Linked DNA regions of Homo sapiens: all the other regions are linked to region 2. Evidence: promoter capture Hi-C in human tissues and cell types (Jung and others, 2019). All regions are on one chromosome and are shown on one strand. The core of a region is centred on a gene start or on the middle of the fragment in contact, and the rest is flanking DNA. Distances in the headings are between cores, read along the strand shown.

The links. The method cuts DNA at HindIII sites, captures the fragments that hold promoters and counts their contacts. A contact is called where the count stands out against the background at its distance.
Region 1: a fragment that was not itself captured here is called in contact with the fragment with the promoter of DNAL4 in region 2 in 4 of the 25 tissues and cell types used here (dorsolateral prefrontal cortex, lymphoblastoid cells, mesenchymal stem cells and 1 more).
Region 3: a fragment that was not itself captured here is called in contact with the fragment with the promoter of DNAL4 in region 2 in 1 of the 25 tissues and cell types used here (mesenchymal stem cells).

Annotation. Positions count from the first base shown.
Region 1 is chr22:39,352,843-39,355,542 of GRCh38, reverse strand. All of the region lies in intron 1 of SYNGR1 (synaptogyrin 1), which reads right to left. Among named protein-coding and RNA genes, the nearest start is that of SYNGR1, 4.2 kb to the right of the region's middle. The HindIII fragment of the contact is 5,350 bases long and covers 1-2,700 here.
Region 2 is chr22:38,792,873-38,795,572 of GRCh38, reverse strand. It overlaps DNAL4 (dynein axonemal light chain 4), which reads left to right and starts at 1,430. Exons shown (of 4, transcript NM_005740.3): 1 at 1,430-1,505. RefSeq lists a silencer at 1,239-1,688. The HindIII fragment of the contact is 13,707 bases long and covers 1-2,700 here.
Region 3 is chr22:39,468,506-39,471,205 of GRCh38, reverse strand. The region is part of intron 1 of MGAT3 (beta-1,4-mannosyl-glycoprotein 4-beta-N-acetylglucosaminyltransferase); the gene reads right to left. Among named protein-coding and RNA genes, the nearest start is that of MGAT3-AS1, 7.0 kb to the left of the region's middle. RefSeq lists an enhancer at 119-1,048. The HindIII fragment of the contact is 6,749 bases long and covers 1-2,700 here.

The sequences.
Region 1 (2,700 bases), core at 125-2,624, 560 kb before region 2:
TGCCCAAAACACAGCAGAAATCTATCACCTCCCAGCGGTCTCCTTGCAGCTGACCCTGTCCTAGACCTGAGAGAGAAGAAGCGGCGGAGCGGCCGGCCACAGGAGGTGAAGAGGTGAGAAAGACTCCAGGGTGGTCAGCAATAAATAACAAACAAGGGCCGTGGGCCCACCTTCCTGTCTAGGTGACAGGGCTGTGCCCGGTACTGGGAGAGGACAGGCTGGACGTGACCACGCATTTCCAGCCACAGAGCCCTCTCCAAACCAAGCTTCCACAGGAGCTTCCGAAATACCCTTGACCCTCTCTCCAGCTTCCCACTGCCCTCAGAGGAAGTCCAGCTTGTGAGTCTGTCATCCAAGCCTCTCCTGGGCCACCCCTTGGGAATTCCTTCTTGTAGTGACCCGAGCCTCTGGGACAGTGCTTCCCACTCAATCCTGTTCTCGTTATTGGAGCGAGAGTGCCTTGGGGTGGCACTGAGCACTCAGCTGGCACTGAGCAGGGGACTTGTGGAATGAACAAATGAACATCAGAACTGGCCAGAGGTTCTGTCTCTACCCTGGACCCTCTTCCCCAACAACCGCTGGTCCCAGAATTTTCCTGTGGCCCCATGGCTGGCACATGGCAAGTTGGTTGGGGGAGGCAAGGGGTCTTATCTTGAAACTGCTGTGTTTACAAAAAACGTTCAGCTTTTTTTTTTTTTTATTTGAGACAGAGTTTTGCTTTTGTTGCCCAGGCTGGAGTGCAGTGGTGTGATCTCAGCTAACTGCAACCTCCGCCTCCCGGGTTCAAGCGATTCTCCTGCCTCAGCCTCCTGAGTAGCTGGGATAACAGGCGACCGCCACCACGCTCAGCTAATTTTTGTATTTTAGTAGAGATGGGGTTTCACCATGTTGGCCAGGATGGTCTCGAACTCCTGACCTCAAGTGATCCACCCGCCTTGGCCTCCCAAAGTGCTGGGATTATAGGCGTGAGCCACCTCACCTGGCCAAGTTCAGCTTTTTTATTCAGTGTTCACTTGGGATGATGGGGGGTGGAGTGGAGGGGGTGAATAAAACCAGGGGTATGAAGCTGCCCCCCTCAGGCCACCCCTTGGTGCCATGGATATCCAGGCAGAGAACCCACAGGGAGTACACAGAATGTGGAGCCCAGCAGTCCGGGTTCAAACCAAGTCTCTGACAAGCCCAGGCCTTGAGCTAGCACAAGTCACTTCTCCAGGCTGAGCCTTAATTCTGTCATTTGTAAAACGGGGGGAAGATACCCACCCCACTTACAGAACCATGTGGTATTATGGCCAAAGCCCTTAAAAAATGAACCCTGAAAATGGCAACATTTCAAACATTTTATCATTTTCATTTTGTCAAAGTAGAGAATTAAAGAAACATTGACTGGGCACGGTGGCTCACACCTGTAATCCCAGCACTTTGGGAGGCTGAGGCGGGTGGATCACTAGGTCAGGAGTTTGAGACCAGCCTGGCCAAGATGGTGAAACCCCGTCTCTACTAAAAATTTAAAAAGTAGCTGGGCATGGTGGTGGGTGCCTGTAATCCCAGCTATTTGGGAGGCTGAGGCAGGAGAATCACTTGAAACCAGGAGGCAGAGGTTGCAGTGAGCCAAGATCGCGCCACTGCACTCTAGCCTGGAGACAGAGCGAGACTCCATCTCAAAAACAAAAAACAAACAAACAAAAAACTCATCTGCCAGCACTGATATTCATTCCCTATAGTCCATCTTAGCCCCCTGCAAAAAAGAATATAAACTCCAAATAAAAGGTGGTCCTTTCTATTAAATCAGTTTAGCTTCTTGCTGTAACTCCTTTTTTTCCCATCTGGCTTTAGAACAAAGAAATGAGTCACTGACAGGCGGCAGTCACCGCGCAACAGATCAGGCACTTCTGACCCAGCCCAGCCCAGTTCGGGTGGGAAGACTGAGGCACAGAGGGTGGGGAGGGGACACTTACTGAAGGTCACAGCTGTGGCCTGGGGGTGCCAGGAGTGGCAGCTGATCTGCCACTGGGGCGATGACACCAAGAGGTGAGAAAGCCTTAGTCAAGAGACAAGCCATGCCGGATGCAGTGGCCCACGCCTCGCCTCATCGTCCCAGCTGCTCACAAGGCTGAGGTGGGAGGATCACTTGAGTCCAGGAGTCTGAGACCAGCCTGGGCAACACAGCAAGATCCTGTCTCTAAAAAAATAAAAAAGAGACAAGCCAGGTCTTGGAGGCCCTGCTTCTGTGCAGGCTGACCCAGGGGCTCAGAGGGCTTGGGTTCCAGGGTGGGTCCAGGTTGGTGAGGCCCTGAAGCTTACATGATTTGGGGGCCCTCTTTTGGAAAAGCAACAGAAAAAAAAATCTTTCTTTTACAAATTTTACAAAAATCCCAGGTCCAGGCCGGGTGCGGTGGCTCACGCCTGTAATCCCAGCACGTTGGGAGGCCAAGGCAGGTGGATCACCTGAGGTCAGGAGTTCGAGACCAGCCTGGCTAACATGGTGAAACCCCATCTCTACTAAAAATACAAAAATTAGCTGGGCGTGGTGGTGTGTGCCTGTAGTCCCAGCTACTTGGGAGGCCGAGGCAGTAGAGTTGCTTGAACCTGGGAGGCGGAGGTTGCAATGAGCCGAGATGGCACCATTGTACTCCAGCCTGGGCAACAGAGCAAGACTCCATCTCAAAAAAAGAAAAAAAACAATCACAGGTTCATGTGCAC
Region 2 (2,700 bases), core at 181-2,680:
AACATTCTGGTGCACATGGCTAGGAGGCAGTTGAATATGCTACCCAAGCATTCAGGGATCAGAGGTTTTAAAGATAATTTTGTGGGTAGGGGCTTGGCAAGCGAGGAGTGTTGATTGATTAAGTCGAAGATGGAATACTGAGGGGGTCGAAGTGAGGTTTTCTTGCTGTCTTCTGTTCCTGGGTGGGATCACAGAACTGTTTGAGCCACATTACTGGTCTGGGTGGTGTCAGCTGATCCATCGAGCGCAGGGTCTGCAAAATATCTCAAGCGCTGATCTTAGGTTTTACAATAGTGATGTTATCCCCAGGAGCAATTTGGGAAGGTTCAGACTCTTGCAGCCAGAGGCTGCTGTGTGACCCCTAAACCATAATTTCTAATGTTGTAGCTAATTTGTTAGTCCTACAAAGGCAGACTGGTCCCAAGGCAGGAAGGGAGCCTTTTTGGGAAAGGGCTATTGTCAATTTTGTTTCAGAGTAAAACTATAAACTAAATTCCTTCCCAAGGTTCGTTCAGCCTATGCCTAGGAATGAACAAAGACAGCTTAAAGGCTAGAAAGGCAAGATGGAGTGGGTTAGGTCTGATCTCTTTCACTGTCATAATTTCCTCAGTTATAATTTTGGCAAAGACAGCTTCAATGCTAGTAAATGTGGCAGTGGGGTTTCACCCCAAGTACTCATCACAATAATAAAGGTTTAAACTACGAAGTACCCAACTGACCCTTTGATCTACCAATCAAATAATAGAATCCGCCAGTTCTTCCCCTTTCCCCTTTTCCTTCTCCGTACTTTCGGATTAATTTTCCCTCCCAAGGGGAAGAAAAGGCAGGCTCTGGGCAACTGTGTCTGAAATTAGGTGGTACAAATGTCTCCTAGTGACTAGAGCTAGGTGACCATACAAGGGTGTGGCACAGAGGAAGGAGCCCCTGGGTTCCTTCTCCAGGGAGATTACCTCCATCCTTTACCAAGTTACTTAACCTCTCTGAACTTTAGTTCAGATGGGATGACGAATATTATCACCTAAAAGTACTGTAATGAGAATCAAGTGAGATATTAATTGTACAGCCCTACAAAAATGCTAGTTATTATCAGGCTTTTCAGATCCCAATAAAGTAGTGGCTAAGTGTCACGACACCAACAAGTTGCATTTGTTATTTCAAGTGACTAAAAGAACCTCCCAAGGCAGTACTGCTTTTCGAAGTTTGTTTCCCTAGAAAAAGAACTTCAATGTGTCCCCTGCTCCTCGGGCACGCTTAAGACAACTATAAGTGAAGTCCCGCCTCCCTGGCCTCTAAACCACGCCCCTGTCCTTGCAAACGCCTGACTTATAAGGGCCTTTCACTCTGATTGATACTTTTATCCACCAATAATAAGTGAAATTCTCGTCAACGTCCGGTGAGGGGGCAGGACTTCCTTGCTGGTTGCTAAGACACTCTTGTTTCGCTCCTTGACAACCCTGGCGGGGGTTCGCTGGCTGCGGCCCCGGCTCCGGCCCCCGCAGGAGCAGGTGAGGCCCCGGGGCGCGGCGGGCAGCCAGGCGGGGAGGGCCGGCCCGGAGGGAGGGCGGGAGGCAACGCAGGGCGGAAGAGGCCTCGCCCGCCGCCGAGGCCCCACCTCGGTCTCCTGCCTGCTGTTCCCCTGCCCCAGGTCTTCCCATCCTCAACCCCCACCCTCACCCCCACTTCGGGACCTGCGAGCTCTGTCGTGACAGGTTTGCCATCGCGACTCTGCCGGCTGCTCTTCCCCACCCACCCAAGGCCTGCCCAGCTTCGTGGTCCCGCGTCCCCCTTTAGCCGACTTCCCCCAGCACCTTGATCCCTCGACCTTTCGCGGAGTAATTCCCTCTCCCGCGGGGTCGCCATCAACTAGGTCAGACCGCTCTTGGCTTGGAGAGTTGGCGACTTACTGGGATTCTGGGCTGGTCATTTCCCCTGTTTGGGCCTCAGTTTCCCCATCTGTAAATGAGAAGTTGAGTTGAGTGATCTCTAAGGCCTCTTCCACTCTGACGTTCTAGGATGTCGTTGTTCTTTGACCCAACTTTAGGCTTCCGAGAGGATGTGCTCCCCAATGGGAGGTATCGTGTATTGTGAAAATAACTTGGCAAACCTAATTTGGATTCCCAGTCTCAAGACCTACCCTCCCTGCGCTTTTAATCAGTGCATATGTAAAATCAGTATACGTCGGTGCATCTCCTTTGGTAATTCTGAGGCTAATATGAAGTACAGAGTCCAGTCCAGTATAGATTCAGTATTTGTTAGTTTCTTTCCTTTGTCTCTTCACCACATTTTCCCTCTCTGGGAAATGTTATCAACCCGGTCAGCATGAACTGTCATTTCTCCAGTTGACCCTCTCTGATCTTCCTCCTGGGCTTCCATGGTTAGGGTTACTTAGGGGTGGGGAGGGGACAGATGGAGATTGAAATACAGTCATGTACCATATAACAACGTTTTGGTCAAGAAAGACCACAGATACCACGGTGGTGCCCTAAGGTTATAATGGAGCTGACAAATTTCTATCACCTAGTTACATAGCTATCGTAATGTCAAAGCAAAATGCATGACTCACGTGTGTGGTGATGCTGGTGTAAGCAAACCTACAGTGCTGCCAGTCATATAAAATATAGCACATACAATTGTGTACAGGACATCATACTTGATAATGGTAATAAATGACTGTTACTTGTTTATGTGTTTACTATCCTA
Region 3 (2,700 bases), core at 30-2,529, 680 kb before region 2:
GGAGCCAGCTCTGCCCTGCCCTGGCTTCCAAGGTCAGAATGCCCCTGCCCCCACCCCCAGGGCTCCCAGAGATGTGGTGCCTCCCAGGCAGAGGGGCAGCCAGAGCCTTTGGTCTGAGTGGGGGTGGCCATCGTCAGATAACAAAGGAGGCCCAGGAAAAGCCGGGCAGGAGGGGGCTGGGCTGAGTGCTTCTGCCTCTGTGAGAGGGCTCTCCTGGACCCTGGGCTGTCCTGGGTGCCCACCCCCAATCTCTCAGGAGTCAGCGTGGGGCGAGGGCTGCTTTGGGGCCATAGCTCTCTGGAGTCTAGACTCAAAAGGGGCTGGATTCAAATCCTGCCCTTTCCAAACCCTCCTCCGTGATCTTGGGCAGGTCACTGAATACCCTGGGCCTCGGTGCCTCTATCAGCAATGTGAGGCCATCCCAACCCCGAGGGGATTAAAACGGATAACATCCAGAGTCTTGACACAGGCCAGTCCTCTGAGCTGGGTGCGGCCTCACCACATGCCCGGCAGAGGGGCAGGAAAGCCTGCAGGCCCCGTTCCCCCAAATGCTCCCAGGATGGACCTCTCTCTGCCTCCTCTGCCACCCCGAGGTCCTCACTAGCTTCCCTCCTGCCTCTGCAGCAGCCAGAGTCACCGCAAATTCCCCATCAGGCCACATCTCCCTGCTCAAGCCCTCCCATGGCCCTGTCACACTAAGAATTAAAACCCCAACTCCTCTGCGTGCCATGGACCCTGGCCATCTGATGCCTGCGTTTCTGCTGACCTTGCCTCCCTTGTCCCCCAGGCTCCAGCCACACTCCCCACCTTCCTGTCTCCTACACTCTTCAGGCATGGCCCCATTCCAGGGTCCTCGCACTGGCTGATCCCTCCGCCTGGAACGCCCTTCCTCAGGTCCCTGCATGCTCTGATGCCACTCGTCAGACAGGGGCCCCTGAGCAGCTGGCTGAAGTGCTGCCCCCGCCCGCAAGCCCTCTCTCCAGGCTGTCCCCCCAGCGCTCATCCCTGCAGAGGCGATCCCACTTTGTTGTTTACGTCTGCCCCGCCCTCACCCTGCTGGCGAGGCCACAGGAGAGCAGGGTCACCACAGGCCTCGGTCGCCACTGTTCCCCACCCCCCAGGACAAAGTCAGCCCTGGAGCATGCACTGCAGGGACAGCTGCTGGATGACATGGAACAGTCCAAAGACACAGGAGCCCAGATGAGAAGCAGCAACAGACTTGGAGGGACAAATATCCTCCGGTTTGGGGGTGCAGGCCCAGCCTGCAAGTTCCCACACCTGACAGGCGCTCCTCCCCTGCCCTGTGGCCCCAGAGAAAGCCCCTGCTCTGCTGAGTTCAGCGCCGCCCTGCCCTGCAGCCCCGGCAGTGCCAGCCCCTCCCGCCCAGGCTCGCCATCCTCTGGTGACAACGTACAAAGGGCCACTTCAGTACACAGCCTCAGCTCTATCTCCAGCCTGGCGGGCTGAGCGGAGCGGGGGTACGGGGAAATGGAAGGGAGGGTGCTCCCCGCCCTTCCCCATCCTTTGGGGTCTTCTCTAGCATTGGGGACTTTGTCCCAGGCATTGTGCCCCGGGTGGCAGTGGAGGGGTTGTTGGCTGGCAGAGGCTCTCATGCACCAGGTGGCAGGTGGAGGTCTGGTCCAAGAGTCCTAGGCAGTGGGGAGCGGATGCTGTTCCCCCGGCACCTACCCATGTGTACAGGGCAGCAGGTGGTGGGCACACTTGCATGCTCAGGTGGCCCAGTGCCAGACGGAGTGAGGGACAGCGAGGTGCAGACCTGGCAGGAATGATCTGGGCTGGGCAGCAAGGAGGGCAGTGGGCATGGGCTTTGGGTCACACCAGGCCTGGCTTTCTGGCCTGAGACCCTCTGTGGCAAACGAGGTGAAACTCAAATCGCTGTCCCAACAACCTGAGCTAGTAACCTGTGACTCAAGCCTGGCACCAAGGGACTGACGCTCCGATGACGTTCCCAACACTCCCCCTTCTGGGCCCCTCCCCACCCATCACCAAGGCTTGTCCGTCCCACTGCCCGCACTTCCCAAATCTGGGCCCCTCCCCACCCACCTGCCCCCTTCTGGGCCCCTCCCCACACCACCAAGGCAGTCAGTCCCACTGCCCGCACTTCCCAAATCTCCCAACCCCAAGCCTACCGCTCACCGGAATGGCAGCAGCTTCCTCAATGGGCCCCCAACCCGGCCCCCATGAGCCAAGCGAAAGCCACATCTGATGCTGCCCCTCCCAGCTTGGAACCGCTGCCCTCAGGAGAAAGTCCAAGTCCCTCAAGGAGGCACAGAAGTTTCTGTGTAATCTCACCCTTCAATCTCCGTGCCTGTTCCTGGAGGATTCGGCTGAGCTGCACTTCTCCAGGCCTCCCTGACCCCAGCCTACTCCCCAGAACCCCTTGTCCCACACAAGGGCTGTGCTGTCTGATGCCCCTGGGTCCCCAGCCTCAAGCACTGAGCCCCACACAAAAAAGGTGCTCACCCTGAGTTTGTTGAATGAATAAATGACCACGCCAAATCCACACACCCGCACCTTCCAGTCAATGCTGCAGGGCTCTCAGGCCTGTCTGGGGCTCACACAAGTGGCCCATGGTCCTAGTCCTGCCTGCTTTGCCAACTTGGGCTTGTCACACCCCAATGAGGCAGCTTAGCTACGTGAATCCTAAGGGCCCCTTCCAATGGGATAGCGGTGGCAGAG